Regions from separate parts of the Homo sapiens genome. Here regions 1 and 3 are each linked to region 2. Evidence: promoter capture Hi-C in 16 types of primary human blood cells and fetal thymus (Javierre and others, 2016). All regions are on one chromosome and are shown on one strand. The core of a region is centred on a gene start or on the middle of the fragment in contact, and the rest is flanking DNA. Distances in the headings are between cores, read along the strand shown. Region 1 overlaps LOC105377144 (a long non-coding RNA gene). Region 2 holds the start of TAFA4 (TAFA chemokine like family member 4). Region 3 overlaps LOC105377144 (a long non-coding RNA gene).

Region 1 (3,199 bases), core at 252-2,751, 2.1 Mb after region 2:
ACCTTGTCCCTCAGCCCGAAGGATGGTAGATACTTCCATTTTATTAATCCCTGAGTTGTCTCACCATCCCATTTGAGATCTTCCAGCATCTCTTTTTGCCAGCATTTATTTTATAAACTAATTTTTCCATGTTGAATATCCTCATTATATATGTTATATTAGAGAATATTTGATTCTGCAATAGGAAACAAGTAAAAAAGGATAGATAGAATTAGGTACAGAAACAAATATCTTACGATGTGTTAGGCATAGAACGACGTTGTCCAACCTGTGGCCTATGGCCCACATGCAGGCCAAGATGGCTTTGAGTGCGGCCCAACACAAATTTGTAAACTTTCTAAAAACATTGTGAGTGGTTTTTTTTGCGATTTAGCTATTATTAGTGTTAGTGTATTTTATGTGTGGCCCAAGACAATTCTTCCAGTGTGGCCCAGGGAAGCCAAAAGACCGGACACCCCTGTCATAGAAAATGTAAGCTGAGCACAAGTGTGCTTAACCTATATAAGAAGGCATAGAAGGACCAAGAAAACCTTAAATGTCTCTGAAGCACCAAATATTCACACTACACCAAATAAACGTGAGGCTCTGGAAGCTCTCAATATCTGTGATGCTGAAATTGGTGACACGCATTCTGGCCCCTCATCTCCTCTGCCCACAAAGCACTGGCTGATTGATGAGTCACATCTATAGCCCGGTGCACTTGACCGTGCACCTCTCCCACAGAGCGAGCATGTTGGCTCTGAGCTCCTTCCACCTGCCAGGCCCTTCACTCAAACTTTAACTCTGGTCCTTCTGGCCAGTGGGCAAGGCTGATGCAACACAGCTCCTAGCCTAGAGTAGGACATATAAACGTGGCATGTCCATGGTCAGGTGCAGTGGCTCACGCCTGTAGTCCCAGCACTTTGGGAGGCTGAGGCAGGCAGAATGCTCAAGCTCAGGAGTTCGATACCAGCCTAGACAACATGGCAAAACTCCATCTCTACCAAAAAAATTAGCTGGGTGTGGTGGCACCTGCCTGTAGTCCCGCTACTCAGGAGGCTGAAGTGGGAGGATCACTTGAACCCAGGAGGTCAAGGCTGCAGTGAACCATTATTGCTAATGACACAGGGAGATGCTAATGACACAGGGAGACACTGTTCCAGAAAAAAAAAAATTGCATATTCTAGGTGTCCTTCCAGCCTAATCTAAGTGTTAGTGTCCTCATCTCTCTCTTCTTACTCTTTGTTAAGCATTCTAGATTAATTCAAACCAGGTGCTTCCTGATTCTTAAGTAGGCCTATGAGCCTTTCTTTTCTATGGCTTCTAGGAGAACTCTCCTCTTAGTGTACTGGGAAGTTAACATCCATCAACGTAGTTTCCCACATGCCATTTTGAATCAGGCTTTGGTCCATGTAAAGACCCTGACATGTTTCTAGGGCCTGCATGTTGCCCCTCAGGAACCATCTCCCCACTCCAAATAAGAGACATTTTCCATCAGCTTTCTGAAGAGTGAAATCTCAGCATGTCAGAACTCAACTTGGATTTTATGTTCTCTAGTAAAGCACTGGGAACCTAATCTGGTAGGGCTTTTGACAAGTATGGTCAAAAAGTTCAACCTCTATGAGAAGCAAACAGGCCTGAAACTGAAGGCTGTTCACCAAAAGAACATACATACTACATCAGGCTGGCCAATAGTCTTTAAAACCTGTTGTGGGTCTTGGTTGGCAGAGATGAGACAGATATCCCAGGTGAATAACAAAGAAACTAGTTTAATGAGGTCAACGATGTACCTAAAATGTGCCCAGCTCTGTACTGGGCACTTTATATAAAGTATCTCACTTAATCCTTGAATAATCCGAAAAGTAGATAATATACCCTATTTCACAGAGGAGCATTAGAGGGTCTGAAAAGTTCATCCCACAGTCACTGAAGCAAGAAGTGGGCATTTAGCACTGGAAGCACAGACTATGGAACCAGTCTGTCTGCGTTCATTTCCCAGCTCTGCCACTTTCTAGTGGATAACCTTGGATGTTTTTATTTTGTTCTCTTGGTTTCTTCATTTGCAAAATGGCGCTAATTACAGCTTCTACTTCAGTTTCCTACTTCACTGAGTGAAGATTCGATTAATATTTTAAAAGAACATGTAACAGCTCCTGGCCTAAAATGTTGGTTAAATTTTTAAAAACCCAATTTTCTTGACCCCAAGTCCACTATTCAGCTTTAGCTCCCTCTAGAGCACTCTAGACTTGCTTGTCAGGGTATGGCCTGCAAATGTCTGTAGTGGGTTTCCTGGAAGCCTGGCTTGAGATAGGGTTTCATATGGAAGTACAAGGCAATGCCCTCTGGAGAAATCTTTCAGGAAGTGAGGGAAGCAAGATAGAGTAAGGTATGTGGTTTCAGATGAGGTTATCTCCAGCCTGCTCCCACTCTGCTGAGGAGCTCCGAAGCAGAAACTATACCCTGAGTTTGGCCCTCTTTGCGGCAAGGGGGCTGGGCTTTTGTGCCTCTGTATCTATGAGTCACTGGATACCAACTGCAGAGAATGAGGTGGTGGAGAGGGGCAAGACATTAACAATAGCCCAAGGTCAGTCCTTCAGAGACTTTAGCAGCAAAACAGATAACCACTGGGGAATGGGCACACTGAACCTGGTAAAAGGAATCCCAGTGGACCCATGTAAGGCACCAACAGCTAGACTCCTCCACTGCGGGAATCCGTGGCATTGGCATCACCTTTTGAAACAGAGAAAGTTTCCTTATCCCCCTTGCAGGGCAAGCGATGGGGGTGTGGCTCGCTTCGCTGGTGCCCCCCTGCTCCTACCTCTAGGGGGAGCATGCAGACGGTACGATTGTGGGGAGTGCTGATCCCGCAGCAGCGTCTAGGCTTGAGCGTTTACAGCTCTGGAGGCCCCAGTGAGTGTGTGTTACAGTGCGCGCTTTCAATTTTATCATCTGCCGGTGGCTTGTGTTAGTCAGCTCAATTAGACCCTCTGCCTTATTGCAAGGACAGAGGCCTTTCTGTATCCCACGTTCTTGCCTTAATGTACCAGAAAAATCCGATCACGTGTGGGCTTGGAGAATGAGTGCAAGGTTTTTTATTGAGTGGTGATAGCTCTCAGTGAGGTGGATATGGAGGTCAGAAAGGGAATGGGATGGGAAGGTGGTCTTCCCCTGGAGTCAGACCACCCAGCAATGGGACTCTCCTCCAACCGAATTCTCCTCG
Region 2 (3,346 bases), core at 317-2,816:
CAGGTTTTGCTTGGATCTCCCCTTTGGCCGTCACAGAACTTCAATGCTAGTCTTTAAAGGAAATCTCAAAGATCAAGCGCCTATCTCCAAAGCTTGAATTCTCTCTTAAACTGGTGACATCTTGATAACAAATTGCCTTTGAATGTAGAACCCCCATTTTAATAATAAGAGAGTAAGAGATTGAAACTGTTTAACAAGTAAAATGTGCTATGGTATGTGTGGTACGGGGAACAGAAGCAGAAGGCCTGCCATACGTTAGTTCAAGGGGTAGAGTCAGAGAAGGGTGAACATACTTTGGAGTGCAGCAGGGGCAGGATGGCACATAATTGTATGTCAATGCAGAGTAAAAGGACCAGAAGATGATAAGCCAAGCCAATGACAGTGAGCAGCATAGTGGTACAGAGCAACGTTTTCTAACTTTATGCATGCACCAGCCACTTGGGCATCTTGTTAAAATGAAGATTCTACTTCTGGGGTGGGGCCTGAAAGTCTGCAGTTCTAAAGTGTTCTCAAGGGACCGCTCTACGACGCCATGCTTTGCATACTAAAGAGCATGGATTTACTAGTTACCTGTGTAATCTTCAGTAAACGATTTAACTTCTCTGTGCTTCAGTTATCTCATCTATAAAATAGAGATCAGATGAACTAATCCCAGTAAAATGAATACCATTAAGTGACACTGATTATCAGTTACTTCACTTGCGGAAGAGTGGAGGGCATGACTAGGAATGGGGTGGGAGGAGGGAGTCAAAGAAGTCTTAGCTGAATTTTTTTTTTTTTTTTTTTTTTTTTTGAGACGAAGTCTCGCTCTGTCGACCAGGCTGGAGTGCAGTGGTGCGATCTCGGCTCACTGCAAGCTCCGCCTCCCCGGTTCACGCCATTCTCCTGCCTCAGCCTCCCGAGTAGCTGGGACTACAAGCACCCGCCACCACGCCTGGCTAATTTTTGTATTTTTAGTAGAGACGGGGTTTCACCGTGTTAGTCAGGATGGTCTCGATCTCCCGACCTCATGATCCACCCGCCTCAGCCTCCCAAAGTGCTGGGATTACAGGCGTGAGCAACCGAGCCCGGCCCCAGCTGTATTTTATACATTAAAAAAGAAAAGTATTTAGGTATTCATACGTGGGCCGAGTTTTCTCCTCTCTCATACAAGCACATTACACGCGAAGCCAGATTAGTTCATGAATGTGCTACTGCACGGGGTGGCTAAGAAATCCTGCTTGCAAACCGCTTTGGGTCCTGCGTGGAGAATGGTTTCGAGTGAGAGCCGAACCCTAAATCCGTCTTCCTTATGTGGAGCTCAACGCGACTCTCAGGTATTCAGGAAGAATACCTTTTGCTCAGCACCTGCGGAGTGGTGGCCACAGCGAGGCGCTCGGGAGAGGCGCCTGGAGGCCGGCAGTGGGGGCGCGCCGCCTGAGCAGGGGTGCGGGGCGGGGAGAAGGCCGGCCCACGTGGACCGCGGGGCCAGGCAGGGACAGGAGCAGCCGGGCGGCCCGGCCAATCAGCGCGTTCCGCGGCGGGCCCGGCCCCTCCTGGTCAGCGCGCTAGCTGGGCTCGGCTCCGCACTGCTAGCTGCGCGCCGCCCTGGACGGGGCGCACCGACTGCGCGCGCGGCTGCGGGCAAACATCGGGAGTCCTGCCTCAGCTGCCGCTTCTCCAGCAGCAGCTTCAGGCTTCTCCCGCAGGAGCTTCGGGCTTCTCCTGGTAGAGACGTGGGAACTTTTCTTCTCCTGGCGAGGCTGCAGAGGTGATGGGCCGCTCCCGGGGCTCCCGCGGGGAGGCGGCACGGTGAGCGTCCTCGGGCTCCGGTGCGGCGATCAGTACCTAGTTCCGGACGCGCCGGTCCGACTTGGATGCCGGCTCTAGTCGAGTAAGAAGGGTTGGAAGGGATAAGGAGGGGCGAGAGGATGGGGTGGGGGTGGATTTGGACCCTGTATTTAGGTGCTGTCTCGTGGGCAGCCGCTGCCTCTCGGCTGGTACCGAGTTAACTCAGCTCGGTGCAGCTCCCCTCATCCCGGCTCTCTGGGGCGCCGGGGAGAGTGCCTGTGCTGAGGTCGGCGTGCAACCCGAAGTTGGAAGGGGCACTCCGAAGTAAGGATGTGTGGCTGGAGAGAGGCAGCGGCCGCTTCCAGTTTCGGGGTTCATGTCTGACAGAATCCCCGGGGGTGCTCTGCTGATGCGGAGGAGGCCACTCGATGAATTGGTATAGGGGGTGGTGAACTCACCGTGAGCTCTTTTCTGGACAAGTCGACCTTAGCGCTTCATCCCTTTAATCTGAGCTAGGATCTTTCTAGGAGCAAGCAGGTGGGAGCCGGTCAGCGTCCCCCCGCCCCCACCCCCACCCTGAAGCTCTGGTTGCTAGGATCTTGCTTGAAGGGCGCAGCGAGCGCTCGGGAGGCGTCTTCCAGCTGGGAGCGCAAAGCTTCCCGCCCAAGTGGAGAACTGGAGCGGGTCTGGAAGTTGCGTCTCTTTCCGCGGGAGGCATCTCAGATTTGCCCACCAAGGTGGCATCTCTACATTTCTTTCGCTCTTTTTCCCACTTTGCCCTGTTAATCCGCTCCTAGAAGAGAGGGCATCCTTGACCCTACGCAAGGAGCTCGGGAGAGGATTGGAACTGGAAAGCTTGATCTCCTGCACCTGGTGAGGCTGCCCAAGCCAGACACAGTGCCGCTGGTGCGTTTTCTTCTCGAATCAGCATCATTTAACGTTTAGGGGCTCCACGGAGCCTTAGTAAAGCTGTGAATCAGCTCCTAAGCAGTATGTACATGCACGGGTTCACGGACTCGCCGAGACCTAGCCTGGTGCCCATCCCCCGTCACCGAGATTCAGGGACCCCCCTTTGGTTTAACGTCTTTATCCCTGAACTCTTTTCCCTTTTAACTTTTCAATGGTCTTCCCTCTGAGACAAGCAAGGTTGATGTGATGTGACAGGCGATCCCCGTGTGTGGGGATGGGCGCCTTCGAAGCTTTGGTCTGTTTCTGTCTCTAATATCCTTGGCATAAAGCTTGTCCACCATAACTCGTAGCTGCCACCTGCAGACTCGGTCACCCAAACTTGTGCACACTGATGGCCTAGCTTCCTAATCACACGCATCTTCGTTTGGCCCCCTCTAGAACACTCGCTGAGGAGGGAAGAGGTGGGGGCAGTTTGTGTCAGAGCCCAGTTCAGGAAGGCCTTGGATTTTTTTAAAGGCTAAAATAATTTAGGAACAGCCATTTTGCAATATAATTAGTGTTACCACTCAGTCACTGAGAACAAATGTATGACTTGAAGAATTCTTCAATAGCTCGCGTGGGTTTTATAGTGAGAAGAATTTCTGCTAAGTTTATAGTCATATCAGTG
Region 3 (3,320 bases), core at 276-2,775, 2.0 Mb after region 2:
AAAGCAAGACTGTGCATCTTGGGGAAACAGGAGATTAGGTACTTTGAAAGAAGTTCAGGATGCAGTTACCAATGGAAGAGTGAGAGGATGCTGGATGGTGAAAATTACCTCTATCACTCTTGGCTTCCCTTTATAGTGGTAATACAGTACTCTTTGGCAAAACCTCTCAAAATCCAAGCATCTTTAATTCAAGCACATCTTTTAGAAGATGTGACATAAGGACAGGGCCATCTTTCTATGTTTCTTTAATGTTCTCCCCTCACCATCCTCTCTCCTCTCTTGTGCCACAACCAGGACTTAATAGGCACTTATTATTAGATTGATATGGACTGAACCACTCAACTAAAGTCATTTGCCTATTGAACCATTGCTCATGGAATGGGACTATTCCATGAGGTTTACAGTCTTATGGACTATTAGAGCCAGGAGAGCTACTTCATAGACAGTTGAAGTAAATACCATGGAAACTGCAGTGTCATGGGAGCACATCATTTAGTTTATTCATATCATCAATATCAATGCTAGGAGGACTCAAAAGCACATGTACCAAGGCCACATTACCCAAAGTTGAGTAAATTGTGCCATTAACCGCCTATGTAATTTTAGACAAGTTACTTAAACTCTGTATGTCTCAGATTCCTCATCTGTAAAAATGGAGTTAATAAGCATCTATTTTATATTTTGTTGAGGAGTAGACAACTTAATATATGAAGAATACTTAGAGTATCCAGTTGATGACAACTTAGTTGCTGTCATCATCACCATTATCAACATCATCATGGAAACTTTCAGACATTTTAGTTGACATTTGAGTCAGGATGGGTTGCTTTTTTTCCAGTTTCTGTGCCCTTTTTGGGATGTGGCATAAGATGGGTTGAATAAGATAATGTTTAATAAGCTAACTGCATTTGCAACTTGTGCTAAAGGTTTGCTTTTTCCTCTTAAGCTCTTCCTTAAAAATTGCCTTGACAATTTTTATTTTCTTTGTAAATACAAAACATATGAGCAGAATCAGCGAAACTCAAGAAGGGTCTGCATTTATTTCTTTCTAAGGGTTTGGATCTGCATTTACAATGGCTACACATTTAATCAGTGAATTCTCTTGTGATTATTCGCTGCCCATTAATCAGCTTGCCCCCCTAAAAGGTGACAAAATGGTGGTTCCTTTTAAGTTTCAAAGAGGCCAGTTTAATCTGGGCCTTCTGTTGCTTTGTTAGGGAAATCAAACTCCCAGAATTGTTCTTTGGCTTTCTCTAGTTGCTCAGAGGTCGTGGGAAAGTCGATGTGAGAGCCGCAGTGTGATTCATCATTGCCTGATGAAATAGTGTGACACCTAGAAACCATGTTCTAACCAGTGGCACTCACATTCTCTGTCTGTCTGTTAAATCATCTACTAGAAAGTAAATGCAGTGGTGACTCTGAGCAGGATAGGTAATATGTGGTCACTCCCGATGTTAAAGCTGTTTCCAACTAGAGTGATATAAGTGACAGAAGATAATTGGGCTTTTCAACCCCAGTTTGTGTCTGCCTCTATGAAGAATATTTTTAGAACCTTCCTTCTTTCCTTGAGTCTTTACTTTTTATGCATTTGCGATAAAGGTGATAAAATAACTGCATAAGTAAAACTTTGCAGTCCATGTCAAAGAACAGCCTACTCCAAAAGAAGGTGTTTAAAAATGGCCCTATGAGCAGCTGTCTACGTCTTGTAGATTTTTATGCTCAGGAGATGTTCTGCACAATGAATTTCATTATACAGTAAATGTTCTCATTTTGTAGAAATTAGAGAATTGTCTCTTGGAGACAAACTTCAGTCTCTTGATTAGTGGTCAGCTTGGTGACTTCTATTTCCTCTCCTTTTTCTGGCGGAGTGCCTTCCTTGAGTCTCAGAGAGGGAAGAAACTTTGATCTTAGAGGCAGAAATGTATCTGGAAAATCTGTCCAGTTATGACAACTACATGCTTACACGCCTTCAGTGTACAACCCCTTTCTGCTCAAAACTACATACCTTTCTTTTCTCTCCTTTCTTTCCATTCTCTCCTTCCCCTCCTTCCCTCTCCCCACTCTCCTCTTTCCTCTGTCCCCTCCCCTCCCCTCCTTTCCCTCCCTCCCTCCCTCCCTTCTGTCCCTCCCCTCACCTCCCTCCTTCTCTTCCCTTTCCTTCCTTCCTTCCTTCCTTCCTTCCTTCCTTCCTTTCTTCCTTCCTTCTTTTTCTCAGCATCTTGCTCTGTCACCCAGGCTGTAGTACAGTGGCATGATCACAGGTCACGACACCCTCAACCTCCCCACGCTCAGGTGATCCTCCCAACTCAGCCTCCCGAGTAGGTGAGACCCCAGGTGAGTGCCACCATGCCCAGCTAATTTTTTGTATTTTTTGTAGAGATGGGGTTTTGTCCTTTGCCTAGGCTGGCATCAAACTCTTGGGCCCAAGAGATCCACCCATTTCAGCCTCCCAAAGTACTGGGATTACAGGTGTGAGCCACCATGCCCGGACCTTCCTTCTTTTGTTTCCTCCTTGCTTCCTTCCGTCTCTCCTTCCTTCCTTTTTCCTTCCTTACACTTCTTAAGCATTTACTTTCAACCTATATGTCACCTCTGTACTAAACCCCTCAGAAAGAGAATAAGACAAGGTCCTGTCCCCTGCCTTCATTTTGCCCAGAGACAACTGGGGAAACAGACAAATAAACTAACATGAAAAGGTTAGAGCCTCACTATTCCAAGTGTGATCCCCTAGGAACTTGTTAGAAATACACAATCTCAGCCCCACTCCAGACCTACCACGTATTTGCAAGTTTCCCAGGTGATCTTGTTAGACGTATGTGCAAAGTGCTGTACTATGAAAGGCTAGGGTCCAGACAGCCAAGTGAGGGCACAGGCTGTGAAGCCATCTTAACTCTATGAGTTCCTTGTCTTCCCATGCACAATCTCATAGCAACCCTGCTGTCCAGTTAGCACTGTGTCCCCAGGACCATGCAGCTGCACTGTGCCAAGGGTGTGGGGGAAAAGTAGGCCAAACTCTGCAGACTGCAGGCCACAACTCCAGGGGGTGTGACTTATACCCCCTTATATGCAACACCATTAGGTATCCCTAAGACAAAGAGTAAGCCTTTTGCTCTTCTACTTACCCACAATACCTACAGAGGGAAGGGAAAAACTTAGGTCAAAGGTCAAAGCCCCGAATAGCAGATTAAGTGAGGTTGATCTGGTCATATATATTTCTCTAATAAGTTTTCTGTTTTCACCCTTGTACTTCTAATACTTCTTTGAAAATCTGGTGAAAGTTGTGTGTCTTTTTCCGAAACACTTACAGAGAGAAGATACAT

What was found. The method cuts DNA at HindIII sites, captures the fragments that hold promoters and counts their contacts. A CHiCAGO score of 5 or more calls a contact.
Region 1: a fragment that was not itself captured here is called in contact with the fragment with the promoter of TAFA4 in region 2 in 1 of 17 cell types (total CD8 T cells); the score reaches 5.2 in total CD8 T cells.
Region 3: a contact is called between a fragment that was not itself captured here and the fragment with the promoter of TAFA4 in region 2, in 3 of 17 cell types (naive B cells, total CD4 T cells and total B cells). The highest score is 6.4, in naive B cells.

What each region holds. Positions count from the first base shown.
Region 1 is chr3:66,858,461-66,861,659 of GRCh38, reverse strand. The region is part of intron 2 of LOC105377144 (a long non-coding RNA gene); the gene reads left to right. Among named protein-coding and RNA genes, the nearest start is that of KBTBD8, 140 kb to the left of the region's middle. The HindIII fragment of the contact is 5,395 bases long and covers 1-3,199 here.
Region 2 is chr3:68,930,767-68,934,112 of GRCh38, reverse strand. TAFA4 (TAFA chemokine like family member 4) reads left to right here and starts at 1,566. Exons shown (of 6, transcript NM_182522.5): 1 at 1,566-1,873. The HindIII fragment of the contact is 2,333 bases long and covers 95-2,427 here.
Region 3 is chr3:66,883,554-66,886,873 of GRCh38, reverse strand. The region is part of intron 1 of LOC105377144 (a long non-coding RNA gene); the gene reads left to right. Among named protein-coding and RNA genes, the nearest start is that of KBTBD8, 110 kb to the left of the region's middle. The HindIII fragment of the contact is 3,901 bases long and covers 1-3,320 here.